Linked DNA regions of Homo sapiens: region 2 is linked to region 1. Evidence: promoter capture Hi-C in human tissues and cell types (Jung and others, 2019). All regions are on one chromosome and are shown on one strand. Each heading gives the region's core, a stretch centred on a gene start or on the middle of the fragment in contact. The rest is flanking DNA. Distances are from core to core; before and after follow the strand shown.

What was found. Contacts are between HindIII fragments. The study calls those that stand out against the background at their distance.
Region 2: a contact is called between a fragment that was not itself captured here and the fragment with the promoter of BIVM in region 1, in 2 of the 25 tissues and cell types used here (H1 embryonic stem cells and pancreas).

The regions. Positions count from the first base shown.
Region 1 is chr13:102,795,750-102,803,067 of GRCh38, reverse strand. It overlaps BIVM (basic, immunoglobulin-like variable motif containing), which reads right to left and starts at 3,949. Exons shown (of 11, transcript NM_017693.4): 1 at 3,547-3,949. It overlaps POGLUT2 (protein O-glucosyltransferase 2), which reads left to right and starts at 4,092. Exons shown (of 10, transcript NM_024089.3): 1 at 4,092-4,579; 2 at 6,059-6,264. The coding sequence starts at 4,398. RefSeq lists silencers at 2,323-2,752, 2,783-2,832, 3,393-3,662 and an enhancer at 3,723-3,942. The HindIII fragment of the contact is 13,413 bases long and covers 1-7,318 here.
Region 2 is chr13:102,852,503-102,859,820 of GRCh38, reverse strand. BIVM-ERCC5 (BIVM-ERCC5 readthrough) reads right to left here. Exons shown (of 23, transcript NM_001204425.2): 11 at 5,949-6,064; 12 at 5,447-5,533; 13 at 3,709-3,769; 14 at 1,403-1,546. It overlaps ERCC5 (ERCC excision repair 5, endonuclease), which reads right to left. Exons shown (of 15, transcript NM_000123.4): 3 at 5,949-6,064; 4 at 5,447-5,533; 5 at 3,709-3,769; 6 at 1,403-1,546. Among named protein-coding and RNA genes, the nearest start is that of ERCC5, 10 kb to the right of the region's middle. The HindIII fragment of the contact is 6,096 bases long and covers 83-6,178 here.

The DNA.
Region 1 (7,318 bases), core at 2,700-5,199:
TACAGGCACAAGCCACCATGCCCAGCCATGGAGAATATTCTTATCAAAAACATAGGCAAAGGGAAATGACTGCATTTAAGCACAAAAGTTGGGGGTAAGCTTCCTGGACGCTAAAGATAGAACACAGCACTAGATTAATAAAAAGAGTAACAGTGTGAGCCAGGCACAGTGGCTCATACCTGTAATATCTATGCTTTGGGAGGCTGAGGCAAAAGAATCACTTGAGGCCAGGAGTTTGAGGCTGCAGTGAGCTATGATCACACCACTGCACTCTAGCCTGGGCAACAAAGCAAGACTCTGTCTCAAAAAAAAAAAAAAAAAAGGAAAGAGAGAAAAAAGTAACAGTCTGGTTTGTTTGTGTTTTTAGTTTGTTTGCTTTTAAATAATGGTCACGGAACAAGATGATTTATTTGGTCGAAGTTTTAGCAAAAAAAAAATGAAGATCATCAATATAAGGATGCATTTTATATTGACTGTCACTAAAATCCAAGGGCATGAAACATTCTCATTGGAAACTATATGTAAATTTCTCTTTGAAAATGTAATATTCATAGATTTTATAAGTAAAACATTACAAAAAAATGCAAAGTACCAAAAGATATTACAGGAAAATGGAAATTACCCAAATCCCACGACCCAAACACTGCTAGTGTTTACTTTCTTTCCACACTGTCTCACGTCTATTCTCTCCACTATAGTGAGAGCCCCAAGAGGCCAAGGGGGCTTCTATTATTGCATGCTCAGATTCTAGCTTTCTTAAAGTACACTAAGCACAATTTATTACTGATAATACTAATAACAGAATCATTATAGACAATACTGAGCTATAGAGAGGCAGTTTGTCCCTCCACTTAATAGGCTGCAGCTGTCACTGTTTTGACTCATCTTTTATCTCCTTTTGTTTCTCTATTTATAAACTATTCCCAGTGAGTTGACACTTCTAACCTGACCTGTGCAGAGATATTAGAAAATAAAGTTTGCTACATATATATGATCACAGAACTCCTCTGCCTGAAAGCCTCTGCTCTTAGAACAAAAGGCCAACTCCTGATGGTCCCTAGATCTATCTGGTTAGCTCCATCTCATTCCTTTCCCCCACCCCCCAAGCTCCACATTACTTTTTGGTTCTCCCAATACTGTCTCCCTTACTTAGCTCATTCCCATTCATCTTTCCAATGTCAGCTCAAATGTCACTTTCTGGGGGAAACCTTCTTGGCTTCTCAAACTAGGCCAGGTGACCCGGTACAGACTCTAGTACCTTCCTCACACAGGTCTTACCAGGTGGCAATTTTACACTTACTTCTGTGCATATCTGTTCATATGATCAACGTCTGCATCCTGCAAGTCTGGTTTTCCAGATTATTGTATCCCCAGGGCCTAGGATTTGTAGACGTCTCATTCAACAGATAATTTTTAAGTGTTTGCATCATGCCAGGCATTACTGTAGGCCCTCATTTTGATTGATTGCGGTTCCCTCTTCCAGGCAAGTGAGGTGTTGCTATATTAAGATTTACTAAGCCGGCGTGGTGGCTCACACCTGTAATCCCAGCACTTTGGGAGGCTGAGGCGGGTGGATCATCTGAGGTCAGGAGTTTGAGGCCAGCCTGGCCAACATGGTGAGACCCGTTTCTACTAAAAAAAAATAAAAAATAAAAAAATACAAAATTAGCCGTGCATGGTGGCGCATGCGTGTAGGCCCAGCTACTCAGGAGGCAAGGCTGGAGAATCGCTGAACACCAGAGGTGGAGGTTACAGTTGCACCATTGCACTCCAGCCTGGGCGATCAGAGCAAAACTCCGTCTCAAAAAAAAAAAAAAAAAAATTTACTACTAAGAATGACTGCAGGACCTCAGGCTCAACTAATAGCTTACTCATAAAATCATGTCATAAGCAATAGAAATATGGTTTGCTCGTATGCAAAGCAAAAATTTATAAAATGGCAAGTTTAAAAAGCACCGCCAGAGTCATGATTGTTCAAAGTCACTGAACGAAGTGTTCTGTAAAATAAACGTCCATTTGTAAAGCCAATCTTCATCGCCTAGGTTGTAGTCTTTTCAGGTTATATTTTGTCTGTATTCTCAAGTATCAAGTTTATGAGAGAACCAAACATCTCTAAAAACCTCTTCAGTAAAGCCTTTTCGTATAACAAAATACCCTGATCGATATCCTGTATAGAAGGCAACTGAGGAGCAGGGGCATTCCGGTGACCTCGTAAGGGTCGAATATGCGCGGGAGGGCGAAACCAGAGGCGCATAGCCCCCGGCCGAGCTAATGCCACCCTTCCCACCCGGTGTCCTCCCGCGCCCTCCAGGCCCCTTCCTCCCCTTCAGACCTGCGGGTCCCCAGAGCCGAGGCGCCAGCCTGTCAAAAGATACCGGGAGTCCTCCGCGCCTGGCGCCAGCCTCCAGCCCGCGCCCCTGGGGAGGCCGGGAGCGTTTCCACCACCGTCCTCTGACAAGCTCGCCGCTCGGCCGGGCTCCGAGGCCGCCGGGACGGAGTAGACAGTCGCGCAGGCCAAGCCCCGCCGCGCAGAACCAGTGCGCGCGGAGGCGACGCGGGCAGAGAGGAAGGAGCGCGGCTGCGCTCCCTGCCCGTGGCCAACCCAGCCCGCGCCTCCGCGCGTGTCGCGGGCACCCCGAGTCCCCAGCCCGCAGAGCCCAAGGGCCGCCGAGGCCTCCTCGCCCCTACTCCCTCCTCTACCTTCCCTCACCGGCCGGAAGACGAGGCTCTCCGCCAGGGGGAGCGCGCCGAGGCCCGGGGGTGACCGCCTCGAACATGCTTGCCCCGGGCCCCGGGGACGCTGTTGGTGTTAAAGGGGGCCCACGGGCAATTGCTGCATCCGGGCTAAGAGCTGGGGCTCCGATTCGACTGTTTGAGTAAACGAGTCGGTATCATTAATAATGACAATTGCACAAAAGAAAATAGGAAAGAAACCCCCTTTCCTGGCGCCGAACCAGGCCCGCCTTGGCTCGGAGCCACCGGCTCTTCTGGGTTTTCGGGGCAGCTGGCAAGAGGGAGGCAGGCAGAGGAGGCGGCTCCGGGTCCGACTGCCAAGCTGACCAGGGCGGTGAGCCCGTGACTCCTGGCGGCGGCCCAGACCCGGGTGCTGGCGTGCAGGGGAAGGCGACGGCCGCTGCGCGCTGGTTCCCGGACCCTGCCCAGCGTGGCGTGGAGACCGACGGCCGCACAGGGGTCACCGGTATCCACATGGACACCTCCTAATCGAGCTTTGTTCACCAGAGGGCTAGGCCCTTCTTTCCCTGGCGCTTCTCTTCCCCCCGCGACACAGCTCTTCCCCCTACTCCTTCCCGGGAGAGCGCGCACCCATGCAGTGGCCTCCATCTGGACGCCACGGGGCTCGGAGAGGCGATGACCCCTGGCAGCCCAGGCCGGTATCGAATTAAGTAAAAATTTTGAATGCCCAGGTGGCTGCGCGTAGAGCGGCAGCAGGCCGGGCTGGCGGCGCCCAGGTGCCCAGCGGAGGGCCAGGCGCTCAGAGCGCACAGCCGGCCGCCACCTCGGCCCCTGCCCCCCGCCCCGGGGTACCTCTGGCCTGTCGGGTGGGGTCGGGTCGCTGCGGCCGCGGCGGAACCCGGCTCCGGACCTGGATCACAGCATCCAGCGCGCGGCCGGCGAGGCGCCTCCTGTTACCCTGGGGCCGGCGTCCCTCGTCCCATCGGAGCGAGCGAGGATGCTGCGGTGCCCGGCGACAGGTCGTCGGATAGCATTGACAGCACCTTCCTTTCAAGGTGCTTTATGCCTGCCCTCTCCACGTGCGGAGGGCAGGGTGACCAACGCAAAAACCTGAGCTGCGCCTCCAGACCCGTGCGCCCCTTTGATGGGCATCTGTGGTGTTTATCTGTCCCCCGAAAGCGGTGACCGAGAAGTAAATAAATGGGCGAGAGGTGGTAAAATCCTGGCAGTATTTCCGCTCGTCCTGTCGCGAACTACATATCCCAGGGAGCCCGGGGCGCCGGGACGCGTGTCCACCCCGCCATCCACTTGGAGAAGGCGTTACTGAGCCTGGCCCGACGCACGGGCCAATCCCCTCGCCCTACACCTTGGCTGGAACCTGAGACGGATTCGCTCCCAAATGATGCTCCAGTGGCAGGAGCAACTCAAGTTCATCATTGTCCTGAGAGAGAGGAGCAGCGCGGTTCTCGGCCGGGACAGCAGAACGCCAGGGGACCCTCACCTGGGCGCGCCGGGGCACGGGCTTTGATTGTCCTGGGGTCGCGGAGACCCGCGCGCCTGCCCTGCACGCCGGGCGGCAACCTTTGCAGTCGCGTTGGCTGCTGCGATCGGCCGGCGGGTCCCTGCCGAAGGCTCGGCTGCTTCTGTCCACCTCTTACACTTCTTCATTTATCGGTGGATCATTTCGAGAGTCCGTCTTGTAAATGTTTGGCACTTTGCTACTTTATTGCTTCTTTCTGGCGACAGTTCCAGCACTCGCCGAGACCGGCGGAGAAAGGCAGCTGAGCCCGGAGAAGAGCGAAATATGGGGACCCGGGCTAAAAGCAGACGTCGTCCTTCCCGCCCGCTATTTCTATATTCAGGCAGTGGATACATCAGGGAATAAGTAAGTCGAGAAACGGCTCCTTACCTATTTTGGATGGCGGTTAAATCTGTTTCTCCCTTTAAGATTTTTCTTTCCAAGAACTCGTTTCTCCACAGCAGTTTATATTCCAGGATATTTGGTTACCCATTTTTCTCTGTAGCTGTAGAAATTGTTCCGAATTATAATATATGCAATATAATGTATTGTATATAACATATAAAATAATCTCCTAGCAATTTTGATTCAGATTCCCACATTATCAGGGCAAGACAAAGTCCCTCCACTTTGCTGGAAATACTGTTTCTAACTACTTTTCGCATAAGCTATTATAAGGGATTTAAACCTAGTTGTTAGAGACTTGATGGGCTTCATCTTTCTCTGGTGCGGCCCTCAATTTTCAAGGAGACATCTGCAGGTAAGCATGTTTTGAAACTGAAAAAGAAAAATGAAGTACTATTTGAAACTTCAGAGTTCGGAAGGAAAGTATCGAAGTATTAATCTCCTATATGATTGTAACAAATATTTTGTTCCAATGAATTTAATACTTTAACATCATACTTAAAACTTATTTTTATAATTCCTATACTTCTGAAATGATTGTCTCTATTATTGGTGGATGCTGACTGTGTGTATTTCATACAGAAAAAAATACTGGAATAAAAGGTTGTCAAGTAAAAGGCAGGTTGTAAATTTTGTTATTTGGCAAAAGATGATACACTACCTACTACTTTGCTTTTGCCCATGGCTGAGCGTGAGTTTTTTTTTTTTAAGACAGGGTTTCACTTCCTAGCCTAGTCTGGAGTGCAGTGGTGCAATCACAGCTCACTGTACCCTCAACCTCCCAGGCTGAAGCTATCCTCCCACCTCAGCCTCCCTAGTAGTTGGGACTACAGGCGTGTGCCACCTCGCCTGGCTATTTGTTTTTTATTATTATTATTATTATTTGTAGAGACAGGATCTCACCTTGTTGCCCAGGCTGATCTCGAACTCCTGGCCTCAAGCAGTCTTCCCTCCTTGGCCTCCCAAGATGTTGAGATAGTAGGCATGGGCCACAGTGCCAGGCCTGAGCGTGATTTATAATACTGATATTGTAAAGATTCATTGGCAGAGATTTTTCAAAATAAGATCATTATCTTTGGGAGCATCATTTGATCACAAATATCCAGATGTGATAGCATGAAATAAGTTAGTAAGAATATTTTTCCATATGGAATGCATGAGTATGTTCTGTGCTTATATAGATTAATAGTCTTAACATACTCCATTGTGACTGTTTAATGAAACTGTTTCATGTTATCTTGGCCATTGTCATCCTCATTTTTTTAAATCTCTGATCCATCATATTCATTCTGGTACTAAAAGCATAAGAGAAGAAGAAGCAATCATATGTTAGAGGAAGAATGTGGAGGAGAATAATCAAGTTTCCAGACTGAAGAGCATAACCTTTGTGTGTTTGTTCGTTAAAATCTGTTTATCTCCCCCATTGCCTTTTCATCACAGATTCACATCTTCTCCAGGCGAAAAGGTCTTCCAGGTGAAAGTCTCAGCACCAGAGGAGCAATTCACTAGAGTTGGAGTCCAGGTTTTAGACCGAAAAGATGGGTCCTTCATAGTAAGATACAGAATGTATGCAAGCTACAAAAATCTGAAGGTGGAAATTAAATTCCAAGGGCAACATGTGGCCAAATCCCCATATATTTTAAAAGGTAATTTGGAATATAATTTTATAACAGCAGTATTTGAATAAAATAATATATGTTATTCCATCAACAAAAACAACTTGGCATGATATATATATATATATATATATTTTTTTTTTTTTTTTTACTGAAAGAAGAAAAATAAAGGCTTTCTACTTGAAAGCTAAGTTATGAGTCCTGGTAAAAAGACATTCAAGATTTGAACGGAAATTCTGATTTGCTAAAGAGCAAGGAACATATTAGTAGAGAATTTACTCCGCGAAGACATACATTAGCAAGAATAATCAAGCTGTGTTCATGCTCATATATGATACTTTCTTAATTGGAAATATATGACTTAAGTAACTGATAAGTGTTATTGAAATTAGGTAGATCACTTCAGGAAGGGAGATAGCTCGAAAGACAAGGAGCGCACTGGTGGTTGTTTTTTTGTCTTTGTTCCAATGCCATTTTCCCAGAGAAATTCTCTGACATTTATTTATTTATTTATTTATTTATTTTTTTTTTTTTTTTTTTGAGGCAGAGTCTCGCTCTGTCACAAGGCTGGAGTGCAATGGCGCAGTCTTGGCTCACTGCAAGCTCCGCCTTCCGGGTTCAAGCGATTATCCTGCCTTAGCCTCCCATGTAGCTGGGATTACAGGCACGCACCACCATGCCAGGCTAATTTTTGTATTTTTAGTAGAGACAGGATTTCACCATGTTGACCAGGATGGTTTCGATCTCTTGACCTCATGATCTGCCTGCCTCAGTCTCCCAAAGTGCTGGGATTACAGGTGTGAGCCACCATGCTCGGCCATTCTGATGTTTCTTATATAGGATGAGAGTACAGTTTTATTACCTAGAGCCATCTCCTTCCCTCTTACAGGCGACAGTACCACAAGACAGTAGGGAAGCAGTGTATATACAAAGGCAGAAATCTTGTCCCCCCCTTAACAACCCCAAGAAAAGTAAACTTTTTTTTTTTTATTTTTGTGAACTCTGCAGAGAAGTAAGAAAAGGTAAACACTTTTCAAGAGTGTCTAGGTTCCTTTCCTACATTCTGCCAGTACAGCCTGGTACA
Region 2 (7,318 bases), core at 1,881-4,380, 58 kb before region 1:
TACTACTGCTATTATTACCTACCATCACTACTATTATCAATATTACATTTGCACGACATACAGATCACACAAAGGCCCAACATGGATGACTTAGAACATCTCTATCAAAATTACAGATCCAGTAAGCTGCTACTCCACACCACCCTACAGTCCACCACTTCCAGAGACTTCATGGTTGCAGAAAGAAAATAAAGAACAGTAAATCATTAGGGACTGTCTCTCTTTCTCCCATTTCTTCCTGTTATTGTTTACACAACCAAAATTCTACTTCCTCAACTGCCAGCCAGAGATCCTTTCATACTCAAGAAATAAAATGCCTGATAGACAGACTGAGCCTGGATTTTTCTCCTGAAATAAAAATCAATTTACTTCTGTCCTTTGTATATCCAAAGACCCAAGAATGTCACTTCTGTGCACCTTAGTGTGTGCTACTGCACATTCTTTGTGGAAAAAACAGGGAGTGATGAGAAAAGAAATTTACCCTTCCTTTTTCATATTTCTGCTATCAATTTAAGCAATATTCAAAAATTGTAGAAAATAAAAAAACACTCCATCTATGCACTAAGGTCGATGATGCTGCAAAATTTCGATTCTGTCCTATAGTGGGTGAATGGAGAACTACGGTAGAAATAACAGGTAGCAGCAACAGAAAGAGAAAAAGAACTCACTCACTGGCAACTAAGACAGGGAGTCATCAATAGTAACATGAATTAAGTATCAATGGCAGCATGATCAGGAGACACATTTGCTAGCACCCAACTGCACATACCACCTCCACTCTAGCTTTCTGGGCCTGCCAAGCTACAAGATGTTCCAAGGTGAAGAAGCCCCATTCGCACTGTCCAGGAAGAGGGCAAGGGAATGTGGAGAGCCAATGGCATCTCTAGGGCTGCAGCAGAGGAAGATATACCTGGAATTTCAATTTAGAACTTATTTTTCCATTGTGATTAGATTCTATATGACTATTAGTTTTTATAGACAATGTATATTATAGGTTACAATAACTTTTATGACCTAACCTAAGAATTGAGTCAGTAAGCATCTACTGGACACATACCATGTGAAAAATACTGAGCTAGACACTGAAAATACAGAGGTGAGCAAGATAAGCGTGTTTTGGAACTAAGAACTATGAAGTGATATTACAGGGTGCTGTGAGAACAAAGACCAGGAAAAAAGACCTAGTCTCGGGTCAAAAGTCAAGAAAAACTTCTTAGAGTAAATGTCTATAGGCTCAAACGTATAAATATACGATGCTTCTTAGAATCTGAGATGTAGAAATGCTGTTTACTGTTAACTGAGATATCGTGTAAGTATTGCTTATCAATTTTCTCTTCTTTCTAATAAAAAGTTTTGCTGAAGTTCTTAATTCTAAGCATGAATGTACTGTTGCATATTTCACCTCTGGCATTGCTTCAAATAATGTTCTTCTGCGCTTGGTGAACTCTTTCATATCAGTCAAGATTTCATGCTTTACTTCAGGGGGCAGGCTGCTGAAGTCCTCAGACTCAATATCTATCGCTTGAGGATTATGAAAGAACTCTTCCTGTAAAGATAAAATCACAGCACCATGAAATTTACATTTCATACACTTAGTTCTATTCAACATTAAGGATATGTATTATGTTTATATAATAAACACAGTTCTACATAATCAACAATTGGCTAAACACAGTTGCATATAATCTGTGACAGGCAACAAAGTGAGTAGGCAAATTAGGGAATGTAGCCATTCACTCTTTAATTCATTCAAAAGAAAAAAATACTTAGCAGGTACCTCTAAGGCACCAGGCACTGTTCTAGGTGCTAAGGTACTGTGAGATCGGATAAGGTGCCAGATAAGGTCCCTGCTCTTAGGAGCAGAGGAGAGAAGACAATAAATAAATAAATAAATGAACAAGATAATGGTAAAATAAAGCAGATTTATCTGATATGAGAGTGATTACATGAACAGAACGTGGAAAAAAAGATCTATTTGATAGATAAAGAAGACCCCACTAAAAAGAGGATGTGTGAGCAGGGACTTGGAAGATATCAAAGAGCCTCACTGAGGATAGAGCATTTCAGGCTGAGAGAACAGAAAATGCAAGAACCCAAGACAGAATGTGCCTTAGGAATTCAAGCAATATATATCATTCCCATAATTAAGTTAGTTTTATTTTGCTTATAACATAAGAAATGAAATTAAAAGAAATTCACAGAAGACATGGAAAAGTGTAAAACTTTTCTCAACTTTAACTCATTACCAAAAGTACTTTAAAATCCTTCATTAGTAAAAAAGATAAGCTAATACAACCTGATGTCCTGCATGTCTGTATGTTACATGTGTACGTACCAACCAGCAAACACGTAGGACAGACCTGTCACTGCGCTCAGCATTTCCTGTGCTTTCCCTCACTAATGCTCCCATCACCCCCATCAGGAAGGCATTGATATCAATTTCGTTTTACAAAAAAAAATAAAGCCTTGGAGAATTTAATCTGTGTAAGATCACACAGCTAGTGAACAGTGGAGCCTGGACTGAAACGCAGGTCTTTTTGACCACGAGGCCCATGGTCTTAACTAAGATTGCTCTCACTAGCTGCATTAATAGCACAGCACCTCCGCAACCTGAAGGATCTCGAGGTTTTAGCTCAAAAGTTTCTACCTGATAGAACAAAACCATATGAACAAACAAGAAACAGTGAATTTGGGAATCAAAAAATGCTATCTGTGACACTAAGAAACTTGAAAAATGTTTATGAAAAAAATGTATATATACAGCATAATCTCAATTTGTAAAAATGTTATTCATGAAAATATGTGTGGGACATTCTTCTTGTCTAACTCTCTGCCCCTTCCATAGGGCAGTAACTAGCTTCTGAGGAACAGGATGTAGTGGGAAGGATGCTGCACAACTTCCAAAGCTAGGTCAGAAAGGCAACAGGGCTTCTGCTTAGAACTTTCTCTTGGGATGCCCACACTGGGAATACAGTCATCATGCTGGGAAAATGCCCAGGCCACGTGGAGAGGCCACAAGTAGGTGCTCTGGTGCTGGCCGCATGGAAGACTGGCTGACAGCCAGCATCAACCACCGCCCATGGCAGCAAGGAAACCTCGTTAATCACTCCAGCCCCAGCTACAGACTGGCTGCATCTACACAAGAGACCCCAGAGAGAACTGCCTGTCTGAGCTCATCTACCCCTGGAACCCAGACAGATGACGATAACAAATGATGTTTTAACCACTAAGTTACACAGCGACAGATAACTAGAACATACACACATATGTGTACACATATATATGTACACATGCACATTTGATACATATATACAAATACACACACAGATATTCAACTATATGGGGCAGGCAAAGAATGGATGAAAATATATCAAACTGTTATTACAAGTTATTTATGAATGATATGTTTTCTATATTTTCTATGTAAGCACATATTACTATTGGTTGGTTGGTTGTAAAAGAAAAATAGCTTGTTTTGAATATATAGATGTGCATAATGGCAAATTCCATATATATATATATACACGTGTGTAGGTGAGTGTGTTTTAAATACATACATGTACACATATATATGCACAACCAAAAAGCCATCTGTCTTTACTTTTTATCAGGAACTTTCACAGTTTGATATACCTCATTAATATTCATTTTCATGTCATTCATTTCAAATAACAGAATACATTCTGAATTCAAAAATGATCTAAATACCTGTAATGCTTGTTTTTGATTCATTCTTTCTTGCCATTCTTTTTCATCTTCCTCTTCTGAACTGAAAGTCAAACATACTTTTACGATATCTATGATTTTTAAGGACCCCTTACAAAAATACTTGTATGCAAGGCTCTGCTCGTTATACGGGCTACAGTGGTGAATAAAACAGCAAGATCTGTGCCACTACTGGTCTCATGGTCTGGTGGGGGACACGTGTAAGTAAGCAATTAGAGTGGGATCTAATAACTTCCACCACAAGGGAAGGGCAGGTCACTAGAGATGCAATAGGGAGTCACCTCACCCAATTTAGGAGTCACAAAAGCTTTCCAGGATCTCCTGCAATTACACTGGTTGGAGTTAGCCACGAATTAATGAGTGTAGTTGTAGGGAGCGGGAAGGTTCATGGAGAAGAGTGTTCCAGGCAAAAGAACTAAGTTGTATGACCATATAGAAACAAGGAAAAGAAAGCCTGCCTGTGGATGATGTGAAGAAAGGCAGGGATAAGACTGGAAAGTGTAATTAAGGAGTTAAAGTTTTATCCTAAAGAAATGAGAAGCTAAGCTGCGTGTGGTGGCTCACGCCTGCAATCCCAGCACTTTGGGAGGCCGAGGCAGGTGGATCACTTGAGGTCAGGAGTTCGAGACCAGCCTGGACAACATGGTGAAACCTCGTCTCTACTAAAAATACAAAAAATTAGCCAGGTGTGGTGGCACGTGCCTGTAATCCCAGCTACTCCGGAGGCTGAGGCAGGAGAATCGCTTAAACCCAGGAGGCAGGGGTTGCAGTGAGCTGAGATTGTGCCACTGCACTCCAGTCTGGGCAACAGAGACTCCATCTCAAAAAAAAAAGAAAGAAAAAAATGAGAAGGAGAAGCTAGAAAGTGTTTTAAGTAAGGAAATGACAATATCAGATTTGGATTTTAAACAGACTATAACACAAAACAGAGATTGGGCTTGGTGGGAGGAACTATTACAAAAAGGGTATGATCAAAGACAAAGACAGAAAGAAGTTTAAAAGCTAATAATGTAACCTGGAGAAAAAATGACAGTGGTAGCAATGGAGACAAATAGAACTGAGCTGATACAAAAGCTAAGTTGTCTCTTGGGAACTCCTGGGAAAGGAAGAGGTGGAGGGAAGGACAGGGGACAAAGGCAAACTGCCAAGCTTCCGGTTCTCCACCTTCACTTCAAACACAGAAACCACCAACCATTAAGAGAGAGACAGAGGAAGAGGAGTCCACAGAGAGGCTGAGCAGAAAGCGCCAGAGAGATGCCGGGGGAGCGGGGCAGTGTGGCATGGTGTTTAGTGCAGAGAAGTCGAGCACACTAAGACGTGCAAAGCGTCTGCTAGATTTAGCAACAAGAATGTCATGGGTTGTGGTATTTTAGCATCATGGTGAGAGAGACCATACTGGATTGAAAAGCAGCTAGAGACAGCATGTGTAAGCAAAGTGTAAGCAAAACTAAAATTCATGCCTTGGAGAATTTAGAATCCACAGCCCTGGCAGAAGTTCTTTAGAATGAAGAGGAATAAGAATCATGAATCACCAAAACACAAAGAATAGTAAATAAAAAATTTAGTCTTTGAAAAATATTCTGAAAGGTATAGAGCATGCCTATTTCAGATGCATTAAGAAATGTTCACATGCCTTATCATGTAGATAACACATCAAGGTTTAAATGTGTCTGAATGTAGCAATGACTAAAATAATATTCTTAAATAGTTAAACATTTACCTGTGTTTTTCTTCCTCTTGTAAAGGAGGCAAAACATAGAGGTCGTTTTCTCTTCGAACTTGGGTAAGACTGGGTAGTGCTTCATCTCTGGAAAGTACACAAATCTTTAAACAGATTATGCAGACCCTGCTCAGGATGGTGAACAGGGACCTGACCTGGCTGCTCTCAGGCCACTGCTGTGGAAAATAAATGCAGCCGAGAGAAAGGAAGGAACCTTGGCGGGGCTGCTCACCTAGAGTCAAGAAGACCATAATCAAAGTAAAAAGTGTACATGACGCAACACGACAGCTTTTTTTTCTCATTAGCAAAGTTGATTCTCACAGAACGGAGAATTGCCACAACTCCAAATTACCAGGTCAAAATGGCAGCCTACTTGTCTCATTTCACTCTCTATTTTCTGTTGAGAGTCAAAATTAGATAGGGAAAGAGAATCGCAGGAAATCAAGACAAAAATCACTTTTTTAAAACTTCATCTCTAACACGACTATAATTTTCCTCTTGCCTTTTGCTTCTGAAGGCAGTTTTGATGGCTTGTCTTTTCAAAAATGTTTTCAGAAGCTTCTCTGTCGTTTTCCTGGAGTCACTGGACGCTAAGTCCTTTCTCTGCCTTCTCTTCACCTATGAGAAGAAAGGATGTAAGATCTCACTTCAGGATATTAGACCACTAGAAACATTGCTGTGATTTATTTTCCAGAGAATTTGGTTTGTCTGAGTTTTCAGACTATGGCTGCTTTAGCATTTCCTCCTAATTGCCATATCAGTGTATATCTTCAGGTTGCTGCTACGTAAAGGACACCCAGAGTTTCCATCTATTACTTAATGGGCTACTACACAATATATTTGGGAAACTTAATTTACTTTCAGTTTCTTTTAAATGTCTTTTAATATGCCCAAGAAGTGGAAAGCTTAAATGCTTCCCAAAAGAAATTATTTATTTATTCTATAAAATGTCACAGTGACACCAAAAACAATTTCTAATATTGCTTTTTATAAACATGCATTACTTACATGTAATTCTGCCCTTCAATATTCAAGATTATATATCATGAGAAATTCTAAAATGTATAGAAATATCTTGTAAGAAATGTTCAAGTAGTGACAAATGGATAGTCCCTGTGCTTATGGCTGAATATCGGATAAAAATAACCAAGATATTCTCTTTTCCTTTCTAATCCTTCCACAAAGTACCTGATTTACAGTATGCCTTGGGTAACTGAAAACTGCAACATTCAAGACTAGACACTCTTACTGAGGCAACAAAGGTCCCCCAGCATTTATAAATGCTTTTTATTTTTATCCTATATCCTTACTTTTATCCTATATCCTCATTTAGAGAGTATCTGGTATGATTACAAAGTCATCATTTCATTACTTTGGTATTTTCAACAAATAAAAGTCATATATCCAAATGGGTGCTGTCATTTGGACTGTTTAAACATTATTTTATGTCATTTTTTTAGAGATGGGGTCTCCCTGTGTTGCCCAGGCTGGACTTGGGCTCAAGCAATCCTCCTGCCCCCGGCCTTCCAAAAACATTTTTTAAAACTACTTCCAGAACAATAAAGCAGCAACTCATTCTGACTCTTCTATATCATGGTCAATTTCCTTCCTAGATAATCCACTTTAGTCACCACTTGGCACCACATAACATTGCTTACTCCTAAAATCCAATTCCCCTTAAAAGAAGGCTTGCTATCACGGAGGATACTTGATCTCAGATTCAGGGAGGCACTTCCCAAAAGAGGGTTTCCACAGTGTTCTGAGTGATGGCCGCATCCTTGAAATAAATATAAAACACCTAACAAGATCCTCTGAAGGGAAAACTCTCAACAGCAAGGTTTTTAGTAGTTAGTTTTATTTAAAAGTTAAATT